Linked DNA regions of Homo sapiens: all the other regions are linked to region 1. The links are contacts of gene promoters, found by promoter capture Hi-C in blood cells and fetal thymus (Javierre and others, 2016). All regions are on one chromosome and are shown on one strand. Each heading gives the region's core, a stretch centred on a gene start or on the middle of the fragment in contact. The rest is flanking DNA. Distances are from core to core; before and after follow the strand shown.

What was found. Contacts are between HindIII fragments. The CHiCAGO score rates a contact against its expected background, and 5 or more counts as called.
Region 2: a contact is called between a fragment that was not itself captured here and the fragment with the promoter of C10orf88 in region 1, in 1 of 17 cell types (total B cells). The highest score is 5.8, in total B cells.
Region 3: a contact is called between a fragment that was not itself captured here and the fragment with the promoter of C10orf88 in region 1, in 1 of 17 cell types (total B cells). The highest score is 6.6, in total B cells.
Region 4: a fragment that was not itself captured here is called in contact with the fragment with the promoter of C10orf88 in region 1 in 1 of 17 cell types (naive CD4 T cells); the score reaches 5.2 in naive CD4 T cells.
Region 5: a fragment that was not itself captured here is called in contact with the fragment with the promoter of C10orf88 in region 1 in 3 of 17 cell types (total B cells, naive CD4 T cells and total CD8 T cells); the score reaches 5.9 in total B cells.

Annotation. Positions count from the first base shown.
Region 1 is chr10:122,952,920-122,955,569 of GRCh38, reverse strand. C10orf88 (chromosome 10 open reading frame 88) reads left to right here and starts at 1,343. Exons shown (of 6, transcript NM_024942.4): 1 at 1,343-1,555; 2 at 2,538-2,650. The coding sequence starts at 1,392. LOC124902519 (a long non-coding RNA gene) reads right to left here and starts at 1,128. Exons shown (of 2, transcript XR_007062325.1): 1 at 1,002-1,128. RefSeq lists a silencer at 1,548-1,627. The HindIII fragment of the contact is 5,860 bases long and covers 1-2,650 here.
Region 2 is chr10:123,545,095-123,547,744 of GRCh38, reverse strand. All of the region lies in intron 9 of LINC02641 (long intergenic non-protein coding RNA 2641), which reads right to left. The region is part of intron 1 of LOC105378530 (a long non-coding RNA gene); the gene reads left to right. Among named protein-coding and RNA genes, the nearest start is that of GPR26, 120 kb to the left of the region's middle. The HindIII fragment of the contact is 5,244 bases long and covers 1-2,650 here.
Region 3 is chr10:122,378,191-122,380,840 of GRCh38, reverse strand. All of the region lies in intron 1 of PLEKHA1 (pleckstrin homology domain containing A1), which reads right to left. Among named protein-coding and RNA genes, the nearest start is that of PLEKHA1, 4.8 kb to the right of the region's middle. The HindIII fragment of the contact is 2,432 bases long and covers 122-2,553 here.
Region 4 is chr10:122,395,878-122,398,527 of GRCh38, reverse strand. It overlaps PLEKHA1 (pleckstrin homology domain containing A1), which reads right to left. Exons shown (of 12, transcript NM_001001974.4): 3 at 554-610. Among named protein-coding and RNA genes, the nearest start is that of MIR3941, 20 kb to the left of the region's middle. The HindIII fragment of the contact is 1,484 bases long and covers 574-2,057 here.
Region 5 is chr10:122,413,245-122,415,894 of GRCh38, reverse strand. It overlaps PLEKHA1 (pleckstrin homology domain containing A1), which reads right to left. Exons shown (of 12, transcript NM_001001974.4): 7 at 1-36. Among named protein-coding and RNA genes, the nearest start is that of MIR3941, 2.4 kb to the left of the region's middle. The HindIII fragment of the contact is 740 bases long and covers 980-1,719 here.

The DNA.
Region 1 (2,650 bases), core at 94-2,593:
ATTTCTCTCTTTCAATCTTGGTGAATTCACCTACCATACGTACATTCTGGTGATTACTTATAGAAAAATACATTTGGTCATCATTTTTCTTGCTTTGACACAGGTAAACAGAATGCAAAGTTTATTCTCATTTTTAGCTAGAGGGCACAAGTCCTAGTACATAAACTCAAACGAAAACATAAGCAAAAAGATTAAAGTAATGCGCACTGAGTCATGAACCCAGAATAGACAGCTCTGAAAGAAAATTAGAGTATGGGTGAGCAAAAACGTTATTTCCTAGAGAGGATACCACCTTAAACACAACTTTGGAACTCTAGATTATAGACAAGTGGAATTTCAGAGTTTGCTTTTTTCAAAAGACAGAAAAATAATCTGCACAAGCCTCTACAGGAGGAGGATGAGGGGGCACACTATATACAGTCCCATCCCGTGGGGCATCTAGAAAGTTCCATCTGCTCCCACTGTTCTGCATCCGTAGCCTTAAGTTCCTTCAAGACTGAGTTCATATTCTACTTCAACAGAGTTCTGAGACCCCCCCTTTCCACTCGCTGTTTCCAGTGCCATGAGGAGCGATCTCATGGGGCAGCCCCTGCCTTCGGTGTCTGGGTCTTTCTTGCATTTCAAATTTCTGTCACCTAGAGCGTCCAGCCCTGGATGCCCGGGTTCCTGCGGCCTGAGGGTTGCACATGGGGTCAGGGGGCGTCAGCTGAGACAGCACCCGGCGAAGGCCAGCGTGGCTCAATGCCCATCACAGATGCCCTTCAACCCCAAAACCCCATCATCCGCTTCAGCCCCCCTCTAAAGCGAGAATATGTGTGAGGGAGGCTAGGAGAATTCGAAGTAAAAATAACCCGAATCGGCAGCGCGTCCGCCGCGCTAGCTGCCACAAATGCTGCAGATCCGACGGAATGGAAGCAGAAAAGGCCCTGGCGTCCCCTTGGGAAAGAACGAGGTCAGGAGTCGGTCTTGCACGCAGCGTAGAGCGACGAGACTACACCTACCTGATCACAGACGTTCCACACCAGCTCAGCAACGGTCGTCCACGCCGCTTGCTGTTTCCCCACAGCCAACGTCGAAAACACCCTCGTGCCGGCGCGCAGTGCACCGCGCCTGCGCATAGTCTCCAGCGAAAGAGCAAGGGTCTGCCAGTGCGCATGCTCCGCTCTCGACCTCCTCCCCGCACACTTTGAACGCCGCGCCTGAGGCCAGCTGGCACATGCGCATGCGTGTCTCTGGTGCCTGCTCTCCCCACCAAAGCAAGAAGCGGCGGGTACTTGAAGCGGAGTGAGCCGGAAGTCGCTTTGCCTGCCCATTTCCACGCTGTACCGGCGGAAATTCAAGCACTGGAAGAGAGGTTCCGGGGCTGGGCTGGCCTGACTGAAGGCGGCGGAATGGAGACGCGGACCGAGGACGGGGGCCTCACCCGCCGCCCCACGCTGGCCTCTTCTTGGGATGTTGCAGGCGGGGCCCTGACCCACAGCCTCCTCCTCACCCGGGCCGGTCTCGGCCCCGGTGACTTCGACTGGGAGGAGCTGCTGGCACCGCCTGCTCCAGGGTGCGCCGGGCCGACGGGGACGGGGTCGCTATGCTCGGCAACTGCCGCGCTTCTAGGGGAGCTGTGAGGGGAGGCGAGAGGGTCTGAGCCCGGGATCCGGGAGAGCAGTTGGTACCAGGTCTCTAGTTGGGGAGGGGAGCTGCGAGGTCGTCCGGGGTGGGCGGAGGGGGGTGGGTCCGGCCGGGAAGGGGCCGAGGCTCCTGGGCGTGAGAGGGGGAAGGTGACCCGGACTCGGAATTTCATATAACGTCCCCATCAGGCGTGATAGCCCCTCAGGGCTGCTGTCAAAGTCAGTCCGCCCCTCTACCCTCAAACAAGACACCTCCTGTCCACCAAAACAGGCTGTGTAAAAAGTCCAGCTATAGATGATCGCTGTCGACTTAATTTCGAAAAAGATACACTTTTGTCTTTCATTGTGCCCTGCACCCAGTAGGTGCCCAGTGATTTATGTAATTATCCGAGAGTCAATTGCAGGGGATTGAGTAGAATGTTGATTGAGGAAAAAATAGAGTTTGGGAAAGCCCTGATGTGTGACACCTTCATTTCCGTATGAATTCTGTGTTGAGCGCTTCTTGGATGCTTGGGAAGGTGCTTGGACCTCAAGGGCAAGTGGAAGTGAGTTAGAAGAAAGAAGCCCCGGCCGGGCACGGTGGCTCACACCTGTAATCCCAGCACTTTGGGAGGCCGAGGCGGGCGGATCACGACGTCAGGAGATCAAGACCATCCTGGCTAACACGGCGAAACCCCGTCTCTACGAAAAATACAAAAAATTAGCCGGGCGCGGTGGCGGGTGCCTGTAGTCCCAGCTGCTTGGGAGGCTGAGGCAGGAGAATGGCGTGAACCCGGAAGGCGGAGCGTGCAGTGAGCCGAGATGGAGCCACTGCATTCCAGCCTGGGCGACAGAGCCAGACTCCGTCTCAAAAAAGAAGAGTCATGTTCAGAGAACTATACTGTGTGATGTTTTCACCAATTTTCTTCTCAGTCAGGATCTGGTGATTTTGAAGAGAAACCACAACAACAAAGATGAAAACCCCTGCTTCCTTTACCTGAGGTGTGGCCCTGATGGAGGTGAAGAAATCGCTTCTATTGGCATTT
Region 2 (2,650 bases), core at 63-2,562, 590 kb before region 1:
GTCCTCCCTGGGAGGTGCTGGTAGAAACGGCTATCAGCAAACATGATCTTTGCACCATGGCCAACGTGGGGTTAAGTCAGTCTGCTCAGTCTTCCATCTCCCCTCCTCCGGGTTTTTCTTACTCTCGCTCACACCCACCCCCAACCACTCCTGCTTTCTCTTCCAGGGCAAGTTTAATAAGCTAGTATCAAAACCATCTAGGCTTGGAGCTTTCAAAGATTTAAGACTTTTAAATGTGAAGCACCTCATTATATCCGACTATTTTCAATAAAAAAGACCTGATAAGTCATTGATATGACACCCGTTATCAGTGGGATTTGTTTGACGTCGATTTGAAATGTGCACTGCTTGCTTTTGGGGGTAATGGAATCAAACACTTAGGAGCTGCACGGTGCAAGTAGATCACTTTTCAAGTAAGAACATTAACATGGAGAGAGACTTTGTTTGGGGGTTTATAAAAATAAAGCAGTATTGTACAGTATGGCATATAGCAGTGGCTACATGGACAATTGACTTCCTTCCTATTAATCAACTACAATGTTTACCTTCTTACTCCAACCATTTCCAAACCATTAAAACTAAGAGGATTAGCATCGCATTTCTGCCAAGGTGTATTTTTATTTCAGCAAATACTACTTTCGCTCTCGGAGGAGATTAAAAGCCTGAAAGAAACGGTTTCTTTATCTGGCATACTGTGTCATACAGGTAAAAAAAAAAAAAAAAAAAATCCTGTTAAAAGAATACAGTGTCCTTGTCCAGAGAAAGCTGATTGTGAAAAGAGTTAAATTTCTGGACAAACAACATAAATTGTGAAGAATAATCCAATGTCAGGACTGAGTATTTCTTGCCCTGTAAACAGTGCTTATGAAAGCATCATTTAGGAACCAGCAGAGAAGTGGTTACCTTCCCTGTGGTTAGGGTTGCTGAGCCATGTTTCTAAGGGAGCTTTTAAAAATATGTAAACCCTGGAGTTGAAATAGGATGAGTTCCATTTATGTAGATTTGCCTACTTACATTATTCCTGAGATGTTCAAGACATATTGTTTTCTACCTCCTTCTTTTTAAAAATCTGTTAATTTTTAATAAACCTATATTAGTCCATTTTTATGCTGCTGATAAAGACATACCCGAGACTGCAATTTACAAAAGACAGAGTTTTTTTTTAATCTTACAGTTCCGCATGGCTGGGGAGGCCTCACAATCATGGCAGAAAGCAAGGAGGAGCAAGTCCCATCTTACGTGGATGGCAGCAGGCAAAAAAGAGAGAGCTTGCACAGGGCAGCTCCCGTTTTTAAAACCATCAGATCTCATGAGACCCATTCACTATCACAAGAACAGCACAGGAAAGACCCACCCCATAATTCAATCATCTCCCACCTGTTTCCTCCCACAACACATGGGAATTATGGGAGCTACAAAATGAGATTTGGGTGGGGACACAGAGCCAAACCATATCAAAACCCAACTTGCAAAATTTACCATTGCATCATTTGCACTGCCAAAAGCGCCCTTTAAAATTGTGTGTTCTCTCTGTCTTAAGTTTGTTGTTGCACAGTTTATAGTTATCTTAAAGGTCTGCACAAGTGGTTTTTGCAAAGTGTGCTCTCTGGACCAGCAGAATAAATATCATCTGGGAATCACCACAAATGTAAAATCCAAAGCCCGATTCTAAAGCTGAATCAGAAACTTGGGACAGGGCCCGGGAATCCCGCCTGGGAATTCTGGAGTTTAAGAACCACTGATCTAGGGCTAATTAATTCTCTCTGCTATAGTCTGAATTGTGTCCCCTCAGCATTCACATGTTGAAGCCCTACTCCCTAATATAACTATATTTGGAGACAGGATCTTTAAAGGTGAGGTGAAAATTAAACTGAGGTGAAGTGAGGTCATAAGGATGGGGCCCTAACCCATTAGGACTGATATTCTTATAAGAGGGAGAGACACGAGGGATGCATGCATACTGAGAAAAGGTCATGCAAGGATACAGGAAGAAGATGGCCTTCTGCAAGCCAAGAAGAGAGACCTTAGGAGAAACCAAGCCTGCTGACACCTTGATCTTGGAATTCTAGTACTCAGAACTCTGAGAAAATAAATATCTCTTTTCTACGGCATCCAGCCTGTGGTGTTTTGTATGGCAGCCCTGGAAAACTAACATAATCTCCTATGTCAAAGAGTGAGGCCTAGAGAGAGGTATTAACTTGCCAAAAGTCACATATTCTGTTAGTAACAGAGCCTAGGCTAAAATCAGTAAAGAGTGAATCAGAAATAAAATGCAGGCAAGTCTCACTCCAACAAGGTAATGTAAACACTAATGTGCAAAAAAAAAAAAATTTAAGTTTAGAAAGAGAATGATATGATTTGTTGGTGTCCCCACCCAAATCTCATCTTGAATTACAGCTCCCATAATTCTTAGTAGTAGTTAATGGAATCATGAAGGTGGATCTTTCCCGTGCTGTTCTTGTGATAGTAAGTAAGTCTCATGAGATCTGATGGTTTTATAAAGTGAAGTTCCCCTGCACATGCTCTTTTGCCTGACACCGTGTAAGACGTGACTTTGCTCCTCCTTCACCTTCCACCATGATTGTGAGGCCTCCCCAGCCATGTGGAACTGTCTTTCCTTTACAAATTACCCAGTCTCAGGTGTGTCTTT
Region 3 (2,650 bases), core at 88-2,587, 570 kb after region 1:
TTACCTGGGAATTTTAAAAATTCCTGATGCCTACGTTAAAACACCACCTCCCCCACCACCGCCGACCAATTAAATCAGAAATTCTGGGATGGGATCCAGGCATCAGTACTTTTTTAAAGCTTCCCCAATCATTCTAATGTTCGGCCAAGGTTGACAACCTGTTTCAATGGGATCCCATCTCACTCAAAGTAAAAACCTAAAAACCAAAGCCCTCATAAAGACCACTAAGCCTCGTCTGCCCTGTTACCCCATCCCAATACCCACCTTACTCATTCATTTGGCCGCTGGACTCACCAGACAAGATTCCCACTCGGGGACTTGTAACTCAAAGTCACGTTCTCAGTGAACACTGCCTTTTAGATCTTATCTAAAATTGCAAATCCTCCAAACCGTTTTGCTACTTCCACCTTGGTTCCCCATGTTATTCTTCTCCTTAGCATTTATTGATTATCTAATGAATGATACAGTTTACTTATTTACCTGATTCTTGTCTGTTTCCCCACACTGTAATGTAGGCTCCATGACAGCAGGGATTTGTTATTTACTGTTGTTTCTCCAATGCCTAACACAGTGGCTGTCACATGCAAGACCCTCAGTAACTATTTGTTGAACGACGGATGAAGTAACCCATAATTACTGCATCAAAGATTAACGTTAAGTTTCCAGATAGAAAGTTGTTTCTTCCTCATCAGACAAGAATCATTTACCAGATTTAACTGATTTATTTAAATAATGGAAGGAAAAAGTTTCAAATACTGTATTTCCACTTAAATTTATATTTTTAGTGAAACTTACATGAGGCAAAACCAGACACAATTATATTATTAACATGCCTCCCAACCCAAATTTCTCCTTCAGCTTTACTCATACTCTAAGGTATAGTTAGATCTTACAAATCAGTCATAAATTAACATAATTACAGTTAACACCTCATCAGTCAGGAACCAGGAAGCCAAAAAATAAGGCAAAACACAGAAACAGCCTGAGTGATATAAGAAAAAGCAAAGAAAAATTAAATTCTGTACAGTGAGACCTCAACAGGCCCACAAGACTTCACTATTATTTGTTAAAACATGTCGAGTGGGACTAGTCCTGTTGCCCCACAATCACTGACAAACACAAAGCTGAGGATATATAGACATAGAGGATCAAATATCTGTAGAGTCAGGCATGGCTCTGGCACCCTAATCAGCACCATCCTTCCACTCTGCAAGAGCAGTTGACAGAAGAGAGGGAAAGAACTGTAAGTCTTCAGGGAGAACGCAGGGAAAAGAAGGAGGTCTTCACCAAAACAGTGGCAGGGGCCTCTAACAGAAATCACTCATGAAGATCAGAGGAGCCTAGAACAGACTTGCATCCCATTCTCCAGTTCCACATCTGCTTATGCAGCAGACTGAGTGACTGACCCCATGTGTCTACTTGAAAAGGGGGACAAAGAGAATTGATGAGAAATGGCAGGGCACAGAAAGAAGGCAGACTTAAGTAGTCTGTATGCCACTATTCGACATCACAAGGAAGTGAGTTTCCAGTGGGTTGAATAGAAACCACAGCGTACCTGGATTGAAGTTGTTTTGCCATTATCAAAATATCTCGCTGCAGAGAGAAAAGATCTCCACCCCGACTCACACACATTCACGTAACCAGTGGGTAAACTGACAGGATGGGAGCAAGCAGATGGGTGTGTAGGTTGGAAAAGGTTTAGCTACAGAAAATTTCATACCCAGAAACTGTGCAGCAGGAGTCTCCCTGCAAGATCTCACCAAAAATGCCAGTTTGGTTGCCTATTAGTAGACTGCAATGGCCTGCCACTGTTAATCAAGAGAGGACTCTAATAGCACCAGATAACAAACACTTGTCTTTTTCTACTTCTCTTCTTGACACATTTGTATCCAAATAGATCCCTTAAGAGGGAAAGGAAAGAAGTATCCCAGGAGCTTACCACAAGCCGTCCATACCCCAAGTGCTTCAGTAAGTAAGTGGCCTGACCACAGGGTAAGGAAGGGAAAAAAAACCTTTAAATTGAATATATATGAGATTGAATGTTCAAACTGGAATAGACTGCAATTTTTTGTTTTTGTTTTTCTGTTTTTTTTTTTTTTTTGGAGACAGGGTCTCACTCTCCTGTCACCCAGGCTGGAGTGCCACAGCACAGTCTCTGTTCACTGGAACCTCTGCCTCCCAGGCTCAAGGGATCCTCCTACAACAGCCTCCCAACTAGCTGGGACTACAGGCACATGCCACCACGCCCGGCTGATTTTTCTATTTTCTGTAGAGACAAGGTTTCGTCATGTTGCCCAGGCTGGTCTCAAACTCCTGGGCTCAAGCTATCCTCCCACCTCGGCTTTCTGAAGTGCTGGGATTACAGGCATGAGCCACTGAGCCCAGCCTAGAGCTTTTTGATAACTGTAAATGACAGAAAAGCTATCATTTACCCATGATGTTATGGGGGGTGGGGGACAGGGGGGTGGGAAAGAGCCTACAAAATACAGTTAAAGGCAGTGAATAGTGAAAATTAAAACTCATTAAAACTCTTGTGTTTGTTCTCAGTAAGCTTGGACTGCTGAATAACCTGATGACATATGCAATAGCATTCTCATCCTTAATAATGGGAGGGAACACCTGACATGGAAATTCTCAGGAGGGATTTACT
Region 4 (2,650 bases), core at 66-2,565, 560 kb after region 1:
AAATGTACCTGACAAACATAAAATCAAAATTTTAAAAAATAAAAAATAGTATTGCAAAATTACCAGAAAAACAAATAAGAAAACAGAAATGAAAAGAGACAAAGTGAAAAGAGGGGGAAAATCATCCTTTCAACATGAAAATGGTCCATATTTTCCTCAAAATAAAACATTAAGAAACAAAGTATCAAAGACAATGGGATTTAAAAGTTGAAAACAGTCTAAATAAACATAATACAGACTTAGAAAAATCTCCAGACTTTCTCAAGATAGAATTTGTTTCACTGATTTCTCCCTTTCTGATGTTCATATACCTGATCATAAAAGTTAATGTTAACTTTTGCAATTTGCCACATCCTGTAAGTTAAAATCATATTCTTCATAACTGTATCGATTTAAAGAATTTCCTAAACGTAGTAATCAGGTACCATTTCAGTATGATAGGAATCTGAACATCACTGTTAAAGGACATGGAAAGGAAACTGCTGCTTCTATTCATACTCTCATTCACAGGGATTTTAATTCACACGAGTATAAGACAATGTATAAAGACTACCTTTGAAATGTAGGTAAGCTTAATGGCTCCAACACGTGATGATCCAGAAGGTAGGTTCTAGAAACAAAGTATTAATATATACTTAATATCCAATATTATGAATTCATTTTATAATATAATGTTCCACATATACTTCTGAAAAGTTAAAAACTCAATTTTTTAATATCACATTTTACAAATGAACTTTTCTTCTGTTCAAATTTTTACTAGGTCTGAAATCAAGTCCATAGCTTGGATAACAAAACTGAATCCTACTCTGTTCCATTATCATGCATTCTATGACTAAAAGGCTATTTTTATCACTGGAGCTAAACTAATACTTTCTCATGAGCTTAAAAAGCCATGAACAAGATCAGATTTTGTTCCTGAAAGCAAGGGGGAAATATTTACAGGCAGAAAACAAATATAATTGTAAGATACTTAAAAAGACTATACATATTACTTTGTTCTATTAAAATTTCTTTATCAAGTATCTCTTGACAAAAATGGACTGCATTTCCCCCCATTTAAATGGTTTACTGTTTTTTATGCCATATTAATCTACATTGATACTTTTTTTTCCACAAAAAAATGTTTGCTTCTCTTTATCATATGCAGGGAATGTAGGCACTTTCACACACAGTATTTTCATTCTTCCCGTAAGTTTCAGATGTGGTTTGCATCAAAAGAGCTAAAGGTAAACATAGAGGGAGAATCATCTCTGGTTGAAGCTATCCAGAAAGACTGAAGTGATGAACAACATTTAGGCTGGAGGTTAAGGAAAATTTTGAAACACAAAAAGCAGGGGAGAATATTCCAAGCAGAGAAAATGGACAAACTATAGCAAACAATGGAAGATGCACAGCTCTGTACTAGAAAGAGAGAGGGGGGCTATGTGGGGCTGTAATGCAGTGTCCTGTAAGATTGTAGTACAAAATGGTGGTCTGAAAACTTGAACTGAGAACCTAATCATAGAGGACCTAAATAAAAAAGTAGCAAAGAATTTATATCGTAGAGAATTTGAGGCCAACGAAGAAGGCTTATGAGCAGATCTGGAATCAAAATTATGCTCTTTTTATAATATATCTTATAATAAACTGAAGGGATTATAGAAGAGGAAGATAGAGGTAGGAAAACCAGACAAAAGAATCTGGGGAAAACAAATCAAGAATATAAATTTCATTTCTATGATAGAAGACTGATAAAAGACTGATAGAAGATTTCAGAAGTAAAAATGAAAACATTAGTTTTAGTTGATTTTGAAAATTATTTCTGCTGGAGATAAGACAGGATCAACTTTTCAACTGACTTTATAATAACGTACTTAAAAATATAAAAATCTATTGGCTTGTTCTAATGAATGATTAGGAGGTAACTGGAAGCCTAGACATTTCAAAGACTTAAGAGTCCCAAACATGAACTGCTTATTGTTGACAGGGACAGATCTTTTAAAAACTTTCACACCTATATATTGTAAAACTCCATTAATTATGTTCTGCTTTAAACTATATACTACGTACAAGCTTCCAAATATAAATCATCAATAGTAAATATGCATATAAAATAAAATTATAATTCATTAATGTATAACATTAAAAAGCTATTTGTATTCTTATGTATAACGTTTTAGATTTATGGGTTTTTGGTTTTTAACTTTAAAGAAGGAAAAGAAATGTAAATATGTCTTCAAGAATCTCTAACTACCACCAAAGTGATTTTTTCAAAAACTGTTACCCTTCCATTTAAGGGTAATAATTTATTTCTTTTCAGTTTTTCATGAGCCTATTATTTTAACTGCTGAATAGAGCTCTAAGCCTTTGTGGAAGGAAGACAAATGAGAAACCAAAGCATGACATAAAGTGTCACAGTAATAGTAGTACACTATGGGGAAATTTAAGTAGCTGAGAGAAAAACAATATTCAAAATACGCAGTTTCTGTGGACTAGTATGATTACCATCAGGTTCGACTGGAAAAAAATGAGATTCAAAATTTGTTACTTGACAATGAACAAGAAATAACAAACTAATAGAACATTTAAGAAAAAAAGGGAAATAGGCCATTTGTTGATTATGAGTTCCTAAACTCATTTTGCCAAATACTTTTTCGAATATCTTCAA
Region 5 (2,650 bases), core at 100-2,599, 540 kb after region 1:
GTCAATACTTTCACCACATTCATTTACTTCTTCTTTCTAAAATGAAGCAAAATAAATAAATTATTTTCTTGCTTGTTTAGCATACTTTTATTTCATATTATCCCAGTAGAAAATCTTAAAATCCACCTTAGATTAGTCAGAAACAGATTTTTGAAGAGTTTTCTAATTAATCTGAGATACTTACTCTTAATTTTCCTGTCACTGATTAAAGCACAAATTTCCATTCCTCTTGTTTTGCACAAGTCCTGCCACCAGTGCTCTTTTTTGGGGAAGGAGTTAACTTTTTATTTTGAAATAATTATAAGGATTCACCAGAAGCTGCCCAAAAAAAGTACAACAGGTCCTATGTACCCTTTCACTAGTTTCCCCTCAAAGGGAAACGGCGTAACATTATCAAAAAACAAGAAATGGACATTGGCACAACCCACAAACTTTATTCGGATTCCACCAGTTTTACATACATTCATCTATGTGTGTCTATACAGTTCTATGCAGTTTTATCACATGTGTAGATCTGTGTAACTACTACCACATTTAAGACCCAGAATTGGTCATCACCCCAAGGCTCCTTTGTGAACTTTAGAGTTCCTACCCCTAAATCCCCTGGCAGCCACTAATCTGTTCTCCAAGACTATAATTTTGACATTTTGAAAATGTAATGTAAATGGAAGCATACAGAAGGTTATCTTTTGAGATTATCTTTTTTCACTCAGCATAATTCTCTAGAGATTCGTCCAGACTGTTCCTTGTATCTAGAGTTCATTCCTTTTTATTGCTATATTTCCATGGTATGGATGGATGACCAGTTGTTTAACTGTTCACCCATTAAAGGACATTTGAGTTGTTTCCCACTTTTAGCTATTAGGAAAAAAGCTGCTATCAACATTCATGCACAAGTTTTTATGTGAATGTAATTTTCCCTTTCTCTACGATAAACACCTAGTCCTGCAAATGCTGGGTTGTACAGTAATCACAAGCTTACTTTTATTATTAAAAAAAAAACAAAACATAAACACTAAACTGTTTTTCAGAGTGGCTAATTTTCATTCCCACCAGCAACACCTGAGAGATTATGTTTCTCCTCAACCTTGGCAGCATTTGTGTCGTCACTTTTATTTCAGCCATTCTGAGAGGTGTGCAGTGATCTTTTATTGTGCTCTTAATTTGTATTTTTTCCCTGCTAGCTAATGATGGTGAACATCTTTTCATGTGCTTACTTACCATCTGTTTATCTTTTATCTTTTGATGAAATATCTGTTCATGAATTTTCTAATTGGATTTCTTGGGCTTTTTACTGTTGGGTTCTGAGTTCTTTCTATGTTCTAGATAAAAGTCCTTTGTTGGACATGTGGTTTGCAAATATTTTCTCCCAGTTTGTAGCTTTTCTTTTCATCCTCTTAAGAAGGTCTTTCATAGAGCAAGTATTTTTTATTTTGATGAGGTCCAATTTACCAATTTTTGCCTTTTATGATAGACATATATTATTTTATAATTTTTAAAACTATACTACAAAATAAATGATGCAATAAAATTATACCCTCCATAAAATCCTAGAAACTACTGAAATATCTATACCAAAATTACAATGCAACAAAATCTTAACTCTAGACAAAATTAAAACAGCCACAGATACAAACTAATACAGTGTCTTAACACAACTACAGGAAAATAGTCTTACCCCTTATGTCAACATAGGTCATAATACCAGTGAAAGAAGCTTAATCTAGGTACATAGTAACCAGAAGGTTAACAGTTTAAAATCATTACTTTTGGAAAAAGTAAACACACAATCCTAGCTTATTTTTTTATCCAACTTTGGTGGAAAATGTATGCTCTATGACAGCAGGGAATTTCTGTTCATTAACATACCCTTTGCCAAGCATAAAGAAAGCACTCAATAGTTAATTAATTAATTAATGTTGTAAGATTTCTAATCCCACTAATCACCCTCCCGTAGCAAAAGACCTGAAAAATGTGGGGAATGATACAATTTGATTTAAAAGATTTATAAAGTGTCAAAGTCTTTTGAGTTCAAAAGGCACACTGGTAATGAAAATACCCAAGCTTGGCAATACCAATTGATTACTTTAAAATTCTTGGTTTCTCAACTACTAGTAACTTAATATCCATTACAAATTCATCCTTTTCAATAGCAAAACAAGAAATTCAAGCTCAGACAAGAGTTTTAATTTCATCAAAAATTGTATGTAAATTTATATTTTTCCTAAAACTCAAATAAAGACTTAATTTAGCATATTAGTACTTCTGAGATATAACTTAGTTAAAATTCCAGTCTTCTGTTTAGCTCACTTAGGCCAGGTTGTAGAAAAAATAGATTTTAAAAATTACTACTTGCAAACTCTTGACTCAGCAATTTTATTTCTAGGAATTTCTCCTTTAAGAATATTCATCATAGCATTGTTTATAAAGTAAAAGAAACAAAAAGGAAAAGGAACTCTATTTGTCCAATAGAGGATTTGTAATTTATGGTAAATCCATGGAAGAACTACTATGCACTCATTAAAAATGATATAAAAGGATTTCTGATGACTTGGAAAATGTTCATGATACAAGTGAAAAAATCTGTTTACAAAATGTAATATACAACTCATATCTCCATTTCTGAGGTGAAAAGTACATGAAGAAAGGC